2 separate regions of the Homo sapiens genome follow, and region 2 is linked to region 1. Evidence: promoter capture Hi-C in 16 types of primary human blood cells and fetal thymus (Javierre and others, 2016). All regions are on one chromosome and are shown on one strand. Each heading gives the region's core, a stretch centred on a gene start or on the middle of the fragment in contact. The rest is flanking DNA. Distances are from core to core; before and after follow the strand shown. Region 1 holds the start of FGF5 (fibroblast growth factor 5). Region 2 overlaps LINC01088 (long intergenic non-protein coding RNA 1088).

What was found. Contacts are between HindIII fragments. The CHiCAGO score rates a contact against its expected background, and 5 or more counts as called.
Region 2: a fragment that was not itself captured here is called in contact with the fragment with the promoter of FGF5 in region 1 in 1 of 17 cell types (erythroblasts); the score reaches 5.7 in erythroblasts.

What each region holds. Positions count from the first base shown.
Region 1 is chr4:80,262,866-80,268,919 of GRCh38, reverse strand. FGF5 (fibroblast growth factor 5) reads right to left here and starts at 2,256. Exons shown (of 3, transcript NM_004464.4): 1 at 1,741-2,256. The coding sequence starts at 2,095. RefSeq lists enhancers at 1-287, 2,030-2,561, 5,078-5,579. The HindIII fragment of the contact is 3,016 bases long and covers 1-2,327 here.
Region 2 is chr4:78,971,921-78,977,974 of GRCh38, reverse strand. It overlaps LINC01088 (long intergenic non-protein coding RNA 1088), which reads right to left. Exons shown (of 6, transcript NR_038342.1): 2 at 4,923-4,975. Among named protein-coding and RNA genes, the nearest start is that of LINC01088, 3.2 kb to the right of the region's middle. The HindIII fragment of the contact is 1,547 bases long and covers 1,810-3,356 here.

The DNA of each region.
Region 1 (6,054 bases), core at 1,007-3,506:
CAAATCTCAGAAAATTCCATTTCACCCCAACAGATCTTGCCCTTTATCCCCCAAATGAGCAGTTATTCGATGAGTGAAATAAACTCTAAAATATGGAAATAGATTCCTCTCGGGAGTGTGAGGGAGGCCCTGGGACTCGCTGGTGCGTGTGCGGAGGGCCCTCTCTCCAGCTGGGCGCTCCAGGCGCCCTCACCACGTGCGCCGCAGGCTGCTGAATCAGCGCGATCAGATAGACTAGACAGGCGCAGAGGGGCGGGCATAGACCTGCTTTTCTCTCAGCATGAACCATCAGGTCTTCCGCATTAGGCCCCCTTAACCCACCGGAGGAGGCTAGCCAGCCTACCGCCTTACCCACTTGCGCGCCTCCGACCCCCCTCTGGAGACTGCTGGCTGCCAAATCTTCAGACCGCCGGTGGTGTCCACGCTCCTCTGGAGCCTGTGTAAGAAGGAGCCCAATGGCCCGTGGAGTCTTTGGTCTGAGATGGAGCAAGTTAGGAACATCTAGGAGCAACCAGGCTGACACTGAAACCAGGTGACTGTGAGCGCTGCTGTCTCCTGGCTACATTTCCGGTCTCCCTGGGTACCTGACAGGCCCTGGCTGGGGCTCTGCCTGGTGGACCAACCCGCGCTGGAAGAGCGATCTGGCCCTACTGAGCAAAAGCCCCACAGAGATCTCCCCACTCCTACTCACAGCCCCAAACCGTCCCTGCCCCCAGCTGCCTAGAGGCAGTGAAGAGAAACCAGAGGAGTGGCTGCGATGGTCTGGAAACATAGATGGGGTGGAAGGGAAGAGGAGATGAGAAAGGAAAAAAGAGAGCGTGCTGAAAGAAAAAACTCAGAGGGAAAATTTAAAACTTTGTTTATAAAAAGTCCTACAAAATCTGCACCCCTACCAAATTTAACCTCTGCGTTTCTTCTAAAATAAGGAACTTTCCCCTAACTGTTCTTGGGGACCAAAGGCTGGCCACTCTCCTAATACGGTGTAGTCATGGTCTCAAGATACTAAACATTGTTAAATCCAACTCTGGAGTTAGTAATTTCAATGTTTATCATGTCTCCCTCTCTAAACGCGTCCAGTTTTCTAGAGCACAATCTTCTTCCAAGCAGGAATGTCTGTCTGGTGTCCCCTAGTTATCTATCTGTCTGTCTATCTATCTGTGTATCTATCTATCTATCTATCTATCTACCTATGTGTATACATTGTATACATAGACTTATATACATATATACATATACATATACAATATTAATTTGAGGTTTATGGTAGCGGATGGAAGAGGGAAGTATTTGGGATTTGATTCTTCTTTTCAAAAAATAACTTCAGTTATGGATAGGGAGAAGGGCTGCCTTTGATGCCTAATGAAAAATGCCAGGCTAGTTCATAAGCAGAAGGTAAACAAATTGAGTGAGAAGAAATGAGTTTTTTGTTCTCTCCTGTCATGGCTGGGGACTCGTCTTTGAGGCTAGAGCAAACTGAAAACAAGGTACCCGTCTGGGCACCAGCCTCTAGGTAACATACACCTGAGAAATCGCAATTCCTCATGCCCAGGAGAGGGGTGCGTGTGCGCACGCCATATAGATGCATCTCCACCCAACCCGCCCGGCTGTTTCTGAGTATCAGCTTGGTCCCAGTGGCCTGGGCTCAGGAAGGTGAGCCTGTGTCCCGGCGAATACCTGCTGTCCCTCCCGAATCTTCCGCGGCCGCCTAGGACGGGTTTTGTAGGAGAGCGAGTAACTTACTTAACATATTGGCTTCGTGGGATCCATTGACTTTGCCATCCGGGTAGATCTGCAGATGGAAACCGATGCCCACTCTGCAGTAGAGGCTGCCGGTCCGGCGCCCCGAGGGGCTCCACTGGAAACTGCTCTGCTCCAAGCCACTTCCTTGGCTGCCCAGAGAAGCTGCGGGGGAGGAGGAGGCAGAAGAGGAAGACATAGCGCTACTGCTGCTCTGTCTGCTGCTGGAGCCTCTAGGGTTCCTATCAGTGGCAGCGGGTCCGGGTTGCCCTTTGGGGGCGAGACGCTTCTCCCCGTGAGCCCAGGCGCTGAGGATCAGGTGGCTGAAGAAGAGGAGGAGGAGGAAGGACAAGCTCATTCTTCCAGCCGCGGGGGTCCTAAGTGCATCTTGTAGGGCTGATTCTGGGCTCTGTAGCCCCTGTGCGGCTGCGTGCCTCTGGCTCTGCCCGCCTCGCCGCACCGGGTGGACATAGCCTCGGGGAAGAGAAGGGGAGAGGGGAAGAGAGAGGCCACCCGAGCGGATCTCCGCGCTGGCACCGGGATATTTATAACGCCAGTGATCTCACTGCTCCGTGCACGCCTGCGAAGCTTCCCCTCACCCGCGGCTTTGTGTACTCACTGGCCGGTGCGGGGAGGGAGCCTCGCGGTCCCGGGGGCGGGGGATGTGAAGGAGGGAGGAGATCCGAGCGAGTGAGTGGGAGGAGAAGCTGGGCTGAGAGAACCTGCGCCCCGGACGCTGGGTGCGCCCATACCAGGGCCACGCATCCCAGCAGTTCTCTCGCGTCGCGCGGCCACCCGGATTCCCCGACTAGGACCAGAGCCGCGTGGAAACGAGCTCGGCGTTAGCAGCTGAGTCCTCCAGGGGCAGCGATAGAAACGGAGGGTTGAAATGTGGAAATGGGTCCTTGTCCTCTCCCACCTCTACAGCACACTTGTGACTGGGCAACGCACTCTTGCCCCCCAGGACACGATTTCCAGGTTCTCCTCTCTTTGCCCTGTAAACCCTGCTATCTCGTCCTCTCTCTGGGAGCCCTTGGAGAAATGCGTCCCACCAGGAGATCCCACTGCTTCTACGTCTTTCGGCGTTGGAAAACCAAACAGGGATTCGCAGCCCAACTTGGGAAGCCTTTGGTGTGGCGCGGTTCGGGGAGAAGGCTGTTTTTGCTGTTATTAGCGATTTATTAAAGAGCTAAGGAATGGGTTTATTCAGCGTTTAAAACGCCACCCTGAGTCATCATGCCACGACTGGAGCTGCTTTCTTGTTGGAAACTCTCGGCTGCGCTGAACATTATGACGAATTTGTTTTTCCTTCTGGGAAGCTCTCCGTCTGTATTCGTGAGAGTGAGGGCACACGCACCCCCGCGCTCCGACCGGGGAAAGAGAGGCAGCGGCTGGACACCAGCACATGTAACTGACCGCCCAGTTGTCCTCTTTCGCCCCAGGATCCCCGTGGCAGGAAGGGTTAGCTAACTGCTCGCTTTAGCTTACCCAGACCTGCCATTGACTGAGGGACCGACCTCAGTGAATGATTAATGACGTGCGCGCTGGATTTCAACCTCAGGAAACCCGAGAAGGGAAAATTTCCTTGAGAACAGAGAATTTCCCTGTACGGGCAACGTCCCCAGACTGTTATTTATCTGGGAAATACACCTGACTTGCATGCTTGGAATGTTTCTGTCTAAAAACATATTTGAAACTTTAAACTAAGCTATGATACATTATTCATTGGTTATTTTAATGAAACGGCCCGTGCTATTGACTGATAAGGTCAATTCAGATGAACCAAGGTTGAAGCTAAGAAACGGCCTTACCCATTATTGAGTACCTACTTAAGGTTTTCCATCTCAATAATGAAACGCATATAAAACAATGCAGATTTTTCAGGTTTGGAATCTTCCACCGCCAGAGTAACATCAAAGTACTTGTAAAACAGAAGGTTACCTGGAAAGTGTAGTAAAACCACTGTGATAAAGAAAGAGGACATCACACATAGATGTGCATAACATGGGCACACTACATGAGATACTGTCCAGAGCTGAACACACCCCCTGTCCACTGTTCTAGGCTCAAGTTATATACTTCTCCCTTAACTAGGGTGGGTAGGCAGATCCTTACAAGGCAACCCTAAAAGTAGACATTGAGAACAGTCACAGTATCTCTCAGAATGGTCTACTTGACTGAAATCACCTTCTTCTGGGGAGGATGATTGTAGGATGGTTCTGAACCTGGGTGCTGTTCCTTCTTCAGGCAATGCCCTGAGGTCTGTGGCAAAGCTGTCAGGGTTTAAGCCACATTGATGCTGCTGAATGCCATTTGTAAGTTCCCCCATGCCACGCAAATACACAGCCCATTCCTCAAGTGACGAAGATTCTCCAAAGCAAATCCAGCTGCTTGTTTCTCCCTTTCCTTTTCCCAAGGAGTCTGCTGAAAGAGGAGGAGAGTGGTTCCTGCCCCAGCTGCACTATCAGCCCCCTGTCTAAACCCAGGAGGTCAAGAGGACTCTGGAGTCCAGTTTCTGGAGCTGTTATCAGCCTCTTGTCTTTGCTCCCTTCTCTCAGTTTCTGCAGCCCCGCCTGCACTGAAACAACCATCCTTGTTTCCCTCTCAACTCCCGCAAGAGCCAAACTGGGGATCAAATCCTTGCCTAGGGATGACCCAGGAAGGCAAAGACACCTGCTCAGGCTTTAGTCTACCTCAAACTGGAGGATGGCAAGATACACTTTTCTGGATTCCAAGGGCTTAGAAAGAGTCAGGGGCTCACTAAAAGGAGACAAGTGACCAGCTGTTGTGGACAGTGATTGAATTTGGCAAACCAGTCCTCAACGCCCGACTGTCTTCCATACTGGGGTGGGAGGATTGGGGGTTGGGCGGGCAGCCGAATGTGCCCACATACTCGGGGCTTAAAAGGAAATCTCCATTGGTGATCATAAGTGTGTAGGGTGGATGCTATTAAACTTTTTTTTTCACAAGAGAGTTATGTATTGGGGCCATTAAAAAAAGCTACAAAAACTGAACAGTGAAACATGAAAGACAGCACTGCGCTTGTTCCGTGAGCTGAGCTGCCAAGCCCCCTTCCTCCGCAGCTCAGCTGAGAGACGAAAGGGTCGCGCTATGCGCCAGGGCTGCGCCCGCCCTGGTCTACATCCTGCCTACCACTCTGAGCAGCCGATCTTCGAGAGCCTCTGTCCACAGCAATTCTGCAGTGGGGAATGTGGGGCGGGGAGCTATCTCAATTTACTGTTTTGGCTACCTCGAGCCCTACTCCTGTGAACTCCACCCAAAAGAGCGCAAGCCTGCACCACACTTTCTCTGGCGACTTTCCGAAAAGTTAATCGCCCAAAGCCCCCTGCTGGGGACATCTCAGCTTTCCCCATTAAGCCTCGGAGCTTGGTCCAGATCTCCAGGTCATGCGCGGATTCGAGCCCACAGCTCAGTTCTCCAATTCCTGCGTTCTCCCAGCCAGGAAAGCAAGGTTGGGAGAAGGCGCAAGCGCCCTGCTTCCTGCAGAGGTAAAACAAACGGCCCCGAAGATTAGTTTCCACTCATCGCCACCTGACAGACGACGGAAAAACTACCCAACAGATTAGCAGATTCCACCAGTCACCTAGGCGCCAGGCAGTGAGTGCGCGGGCTTCGGCTTAGGTCCCCACCCCCTCTTCTTGAGCTCTCTTTCAGCGGTGTCTCACCCCACTAGGCCTCACATTTCCTAGACCAACCCCCTCAGGGTCACTTTTCCTGGACCCCAGCATCTGAACTTTCTTTCCAGGCCTCCCCTATTTCTGTGTGGAAAACTGGTGGTGAATTTCCCCTATCCCTTTCGTAACTACAAGTGTGATCTGGTTACTAGAGACAGAAATCAATGCAAAAGAAGATAAAGTTACCGGTAACCTCTGGTTGGAACCCAGAAGCCTAAGAAAAGAGAAGTCAGGGTGTATAAGTCAAGTCAGAGCCCAATATTTCCTTCACTCTAGAGACCGTCTCAATATTTACAACATTCCCCTGGGTTTAAACTGAGGCCAGGCCTCACTGAGGCAAGGGTCCTGAAGGCAAGACTGTTCATCCTACAATGTCTCATGCTGGGTTGGAAGGACGGACAAGAGATAGATGATGGAATAGAATGAACAACCCTGGCAATGCAAGCCACTGTCCTGGGAGGCTGTCTGACCCAGGAACCAGGCTGCCACTGTGCCAGGCTGATCTTACACAGACTTCTGTTCCAAGAGCCTCAGTTACCCCAAAATCTCCACTCCTGGAGGTGCAGGTGCCATGAGAAATTTGCCTGTTCTGAGCTTTAAGATGACTGTACAGTTTGAAGGC
Region 2 (6,054 bases), core at 1,334-3,833, 1.3 Mb after region 1:
ATGACTTTCTTCACAGAATTGGAAAAAAATACTTTAAAGTTCATATGGAACCAAAAAAGAGCCCTCATTGCCAAGTCAATCCTAAGCCAAAAGAACAAAGCTGGAGGCATCACACTACCTGACTTCAAACTATACTACAAGGTTACAGTAACCAAAACAGCATGGTACTGGTACCAAAACAGAGAGGTAGACCAATGGAAGAGAACAGAGCCCTCAGATATAATGCCACATATCTACAACCATCTGATCTTTGACAAACCTGATAAAAACAAGAAAGGGGGAAACAACTCCCTATTTAATAAATGGTGCTGGGAAAACTGGCTAGCCATATGTAGAAAGCTGAAACTGGATCCCTTCCTTACACCTTATACAAAAATTAATTAAAGATGGATTAAAGACTTAAACGTTAGACCTAAAACCATAAAAACCCTAGAAGAAAACCTAGGCAGTACCATTCAGGACATATGCATGGGCAAGGACTTCATGTCTAAAACACCAAAAGCAATGGCAACAAAAGACAAAATTGACAAATGGGATCTCATTAAACTAAAGAGCTTCTGCACAGCAAAAGAAACTACCATCAGAGTGAACAGGCAACCTACAGAATGGGAGAAAATTTTTGCAATCTACTCATCTGATGAAGGGCTAATATCCAGAATCTACAATGAACTCAAACAAATTTACAAGAAAAAAAACAACCCCATCAAAAAGTGGGCAAAGGATATGAACAGACACTTCTCAAAAGAAGACATTTATGCAGCCAACAGACACAGGAAAAAATGCTCATCATCACTGGCTATCAGAGAAATGCAAATCAAAACCACAATGAGACACCATATCACACCAGTTAGAATGGCGATCATTAAAAAGTCAGGAACAACAGGTGCTGGAGAGGATGTGGAGAAACAGGAACACTTTTACACTGTTGGTGGGACTGTAAACTAGTTCAACCATGGTGGAAGTCAGTGTGGCGATTCCTCAGGGATCTAGAACTAGAAATACCATTTGACCCAGCCATCCCATTACTGGGTATATACCCAAAGGATTATAAATCTTGCTGCTATAAAGACACATGCACACGTATGTTTATTGCGGCACTATTCACAATAGCAAAGACTTGAAACCAAGCCAGATGATCAACAATGATAGACTGGATTAAGAAAATGTGGCACATATACACCATGGATACTATGCAGCCATAAAAAAGGATGAGTTCATGTCCTTTGTAGGGACATGGATGAAGCTGGAAACCATCATTCTCAGCAAACTATCACAAGGACAAAAAACCAAACACCTCATGTTCTCACTCACAGGTAGGAATTGAACAATGAGAACACATGGACACAGGAAGGGGAACATCACACTCTGGGGACTGTTGTGGGGTCGGGGGAGTGGGGAGGTATGGCATTTGGTGATATACCTAATGTTAAATGACGAGTTACCGGGTGCAGCAAACCAACATGGCACATGTATACATATGTAACAAACCTGCACGTTGTGCACATGTACCCTAAAACTTAAAGTATAATTAAAAAATAATAATAATAAATAAAATAAAATAAAAGATAACCTCCCATCTCACACCCTTTATCACATCTGCAAAGTTCCTTTTGTTACGTAGATTAACATATTTGCAGATTCTGAGATTAGAACATCTCAGAATGGACATCTTTGCAGGGCCATTTTTCAGCCTACCTTACATAGCTATTTATTTTTCCAAGGAAATAAAAAAGAATTACCTGCATTCTCCAGGATAACTAGTTGTAAAGTTCAGGTCACAGTCGCACCTCATAAATATTGTCTCAAGCTTTTCTCCCCAGTTCTGCAGCTGCATAACCAAACACCATTGTGCTAGTAGAAGCTCATCCACTCAGCTGCATAACCAAACACCATTGTGCTAATAGAAGCTCATCCACTCAGCTGCCTGGTTTCTGCTAACTCAGCTGGGAGCCTATAAATTTGGTGAAGCTGTATTTGTGGGAATCCTTTCTCGGGTTTAGAGGGGTGGAGAGCTAGGCCTACAACCTTCTTTTAAACAGGCAAAAACTGAAACTGTTTAACTGAAAGTACTGTCAAATATTTTCATGTAAAATGAAAATGTAGACTTTTTATGACTTGCAGGGCTCTTAGGGGATCTATTTAATGAATTGTCTCATTTTACCAGCAATAAAACTATCGAGGAGAAAGATCAAGTCAAGCTCACCAGCCTCTGAGTAGCAAACCTCAGACTTGGTTTCCTTATCTTCTGCTCCACTGCCAGGAAGGAAGAAAGGAAGGCAGTAAGTAAAAAGGGAAGGAAGGAAGGGAGGGAGGAAAGAAAAAGAGGATTAGTTCATGTCCTTTGTAGGGACATGGATGAAATTGGAAATCATCATTCTCAGTAAACTATCGCAAGAACAAAAAACCAAACACCACATATTCTCACTCATAGGTGGGAATTGAACAATGAGATCACATGGACACAGGAAGGGGAATATCACACTCTGGGGACTGTGGTGGGGTGGGGGGAGAGGGGGAGGGATAGCATTGGGAGATATACCTAATGCTAGATGATGAGTTAGTGGGTGCAGCGCACCAGCATGGCACATGTATACATATGTAACTAACCTGCACATTGTGCACATGTACCCTAAAACTTAAAGTATAATAATAAAAAAAAAAGAAACAAACAAAAAAAAAAGAGGCAGATATGCAATTTAAAGGGCAAATTAGTTATCTGGGTGATGAGCGTTGCACACCTCTGCTCTGTTTCCACTTGTAGTCACTAATAAATAATCTCAATGTTAAAAATAAACAATAAAAAAAAAGAAAAAGAGGATTAAAATCATTCGAAAACCAAAATTCAAAGAGATCCAGTGTGTCCACTCAAGTGCAGACATCTGATATAGTCAGCTCTTGATTAATGATGATAAAGGTGAAGAGAGATGAAAGTCATGTATAATTCTAAACCCTGATTAAAACAAAACTAGTCTGAATCTGGTAGCAAGTAAATTTATATAAACATATTTTATTGTAATTATATCTAATATTTAGGAACACATTTACCACTCCACAGATGCCCAAAAGTGTAAAAATAACCCTAGTGCAACTCATTAGGAACACTAAACACCAAATGTGTCACTTGATGAGAAACTGCTAAAGGCTTGCTAATAAATAGTCTAATTTCTATTTGCTTCCCAGTTAATCTCGTTTTTAAAAATGTTAGAACACAACTAAGTTGGGCAGAGGAGTAATCTCAATGCTTAGATCTTCCTCTGTCTTCTCCTTCTCACTTAATTTCTCAACCCTGTCTTTAGAGTTCTTGAATCCATGGCCCTCCTAATCCCATTTGGTTTTGCTTACAGTAAACAAAAGCTTCCTTTTTGAGGGACCATTGACTCTGGGATGGAGCCCAGAAATAACCTGGTGGTCTCACTAGAGGGGTTCTGATGATTACCAGGCACCTGCAACAGAAGCCTTCAGATATGTGGACGTTTGCACTGATTGGGGGTAATTTTTCTATTTTATGCACTTTTAATGCATTTTCTATTAATCAACAAACAGAGAACACAACCCCAAATAACTGAGCAATGACCACGGCTAAAAAGCTGGAATGTGAATTCAGCTTTCCGGGATTCCCAAGCTTCTTACTGCCCACAAAGCAGGACACAGACATGCAGAGATATGTGCTCAAAAACTGTCTTAAAGCCGTATACAAAGACAGCATCACTTTGAATTATGCTACAAAACAGTGCCTGAAAGTTGTGTATGAAGTAAATTTCCATTACAAGAATCACAAATTGATATTTTATTTTGAAGCTATTTACAGAGATGTGTTACACAAGTCCTAAAAATGTGTCTCCCTGACCATGCCACATGCATGGGCAGAGGAACACAGGCACACACATGTACATATACACAAGCCCCTTCACCTGGCTGACTTTTTCATCACTCCTCATCACTTCATCAGGCAAGTCTTCCCAAACCCTCCAGACTCAGCTCAATCCCCCTCATCTTCTCATTGTCTCTGTAGCTCTTACCATAGTTGCCAACTGATTCATTATTTGTTAGCAGAATAGGATAGTGTTTAAGTGTCAGATTCTCAAGCCAATCTTCCTAGGTTCAAATATCAGTTCTGTCACCTACTGGTTGTGGGATCTTGAGCAAGCTCCTTAACCTTGCTTTGCCTCAGTTTCCTCAACTGCAAACTAGAGATCAGAGTTCCATCTTCTGGGATTATTGAGTGGAACATGTGAGATAACGCATGTAAAATATTTGGGAAAGTGTCCAGTACATAGTAAGTTCTATACAGGTATTTGCTATTATTATTTATCAGCTGTGAGCATCACTCATTATGCTGTAAGGTGCACAAAGGCTGGAATTGTTTCTGTATTTCCCACTCCTCATATCTGCTTTCAAATAGTTTTTGGAGGAAGAAAGTTGTGAAATCCCAAAGTTTCCTCTGCCATCACTAAATCTCTTCATCTCATTCACAGCTCTGCCACATTCTCTACGGTCACCACCATTGGAGTTGCTGTCACCACAGCTACCACAGCCCCTTTACTGACACATCCAAATACCTTAAGTTCAAAAGGCTGTGGCATCAGATTCAGAAAGAAGAGTGCTAATTCTAAAAGATAGCCATTCGAGCAGCAGCAATGTAACAGATGTTTTGTTGATTTAGCAATTATTTCAAAGGTAACAAAAACTCTGGCTAACAATAGAGGAGGAAGGAGCTTACGCTCCAGAAGAAACACACCAACAACTACAAATTCACAGCCACTATCCACCAAGGGGGTACAAAATAATAGTAAGAATAACAATAACAAAAACAACAATGAAAGCACTAAGATGCTTTCAAGGGAGGCACCATAGCAGAGTCGTCATGAGCACAAGACCTGGATCCTGCCAATCTGGGTCTCAAGCCCATCTCTGTTACTTACTAGCTGTGAAACGCTGAGCTGTTTCTTAATTTTTACGTGATTTAGCTTCCTCTCTGAAAAATGAAGATAAAAATAGTATCAGCACCACTACAGTATTACTATAAGGACTAAAGAATTACCTTTTGTAGAGAACTTGGAACAGTGACTGGCACATAAAAAGTATTCAATTAATGTTGGTTATTTTTGTTAATTGAAAGAGTTTTCACAGACATATCTCAAAGGACCAGCACTGAGAGTTTTCCACACATATATTATGCAGACACACACACACCCAAGACCTTTTTCCCGACACCTCACATTAACACTACACTTTGATACAGTGTGTACTCTCTCAGGCCCTTTCCTTGGGCTCTTACACAAAGCCAAGAGTTCTGCCTGTTGCTCTTTTCCCTGATGTGACTATTACCTGTGTTAAGACAGGTATCTTAACATGCATAGATCTTAAATCAATCTATGCATGGCTACCATTATTTCACTGCAGAACACGGACTAATAGTCCCAGCTTTACTTCTCAATCGAGGCTTTCTGTAAGAAGAAGAGCTTCCTATCCAGGTTTTCTTATGAACACACAAAGACCAATCTTTTATCCATGGCCTAACCCAGTGTTTACCAAACTTGAATACATCTGAAGACTTGCAAAGCTCTATCAATTTCTGTCTGAGAGACATATTCCAACCCTTAAATTTATGAAAGACTCAACAAGCTGAAAAAGCAAGCAATACAATTTCAGAGAAGTAGTTTATCCAAGGATACATGGACAGTAAAAAGTAGAACTATGCCTTAAAACCCTTCTTTTGACTTTAGTACAATGTTTTCTTTTAAATTTTATTTATTCAAGAAGTTTGGAATTTAGAAATCATGGAGATGATTGGGCAAACCTAATACTAAAGGAAAAGTCAGATAATCCATAATATCATTGCTTTTTATCCCATTAAAAAAGCTGAGAATACTAATAAAGCTAACTTAACTAAAATCTGTATAGTTATGATCCCGTTCTATAAAAGAAGAGACCAGTGAATTTTTTCATCCCTGGTGGTGCAGCAGGAAACAGAATCTACCACAGAAAAGAAAATGAGGAACTACATGAATCTTAGACAACTATTAAGACCTGTGTGTGAACTAGCTTGACATG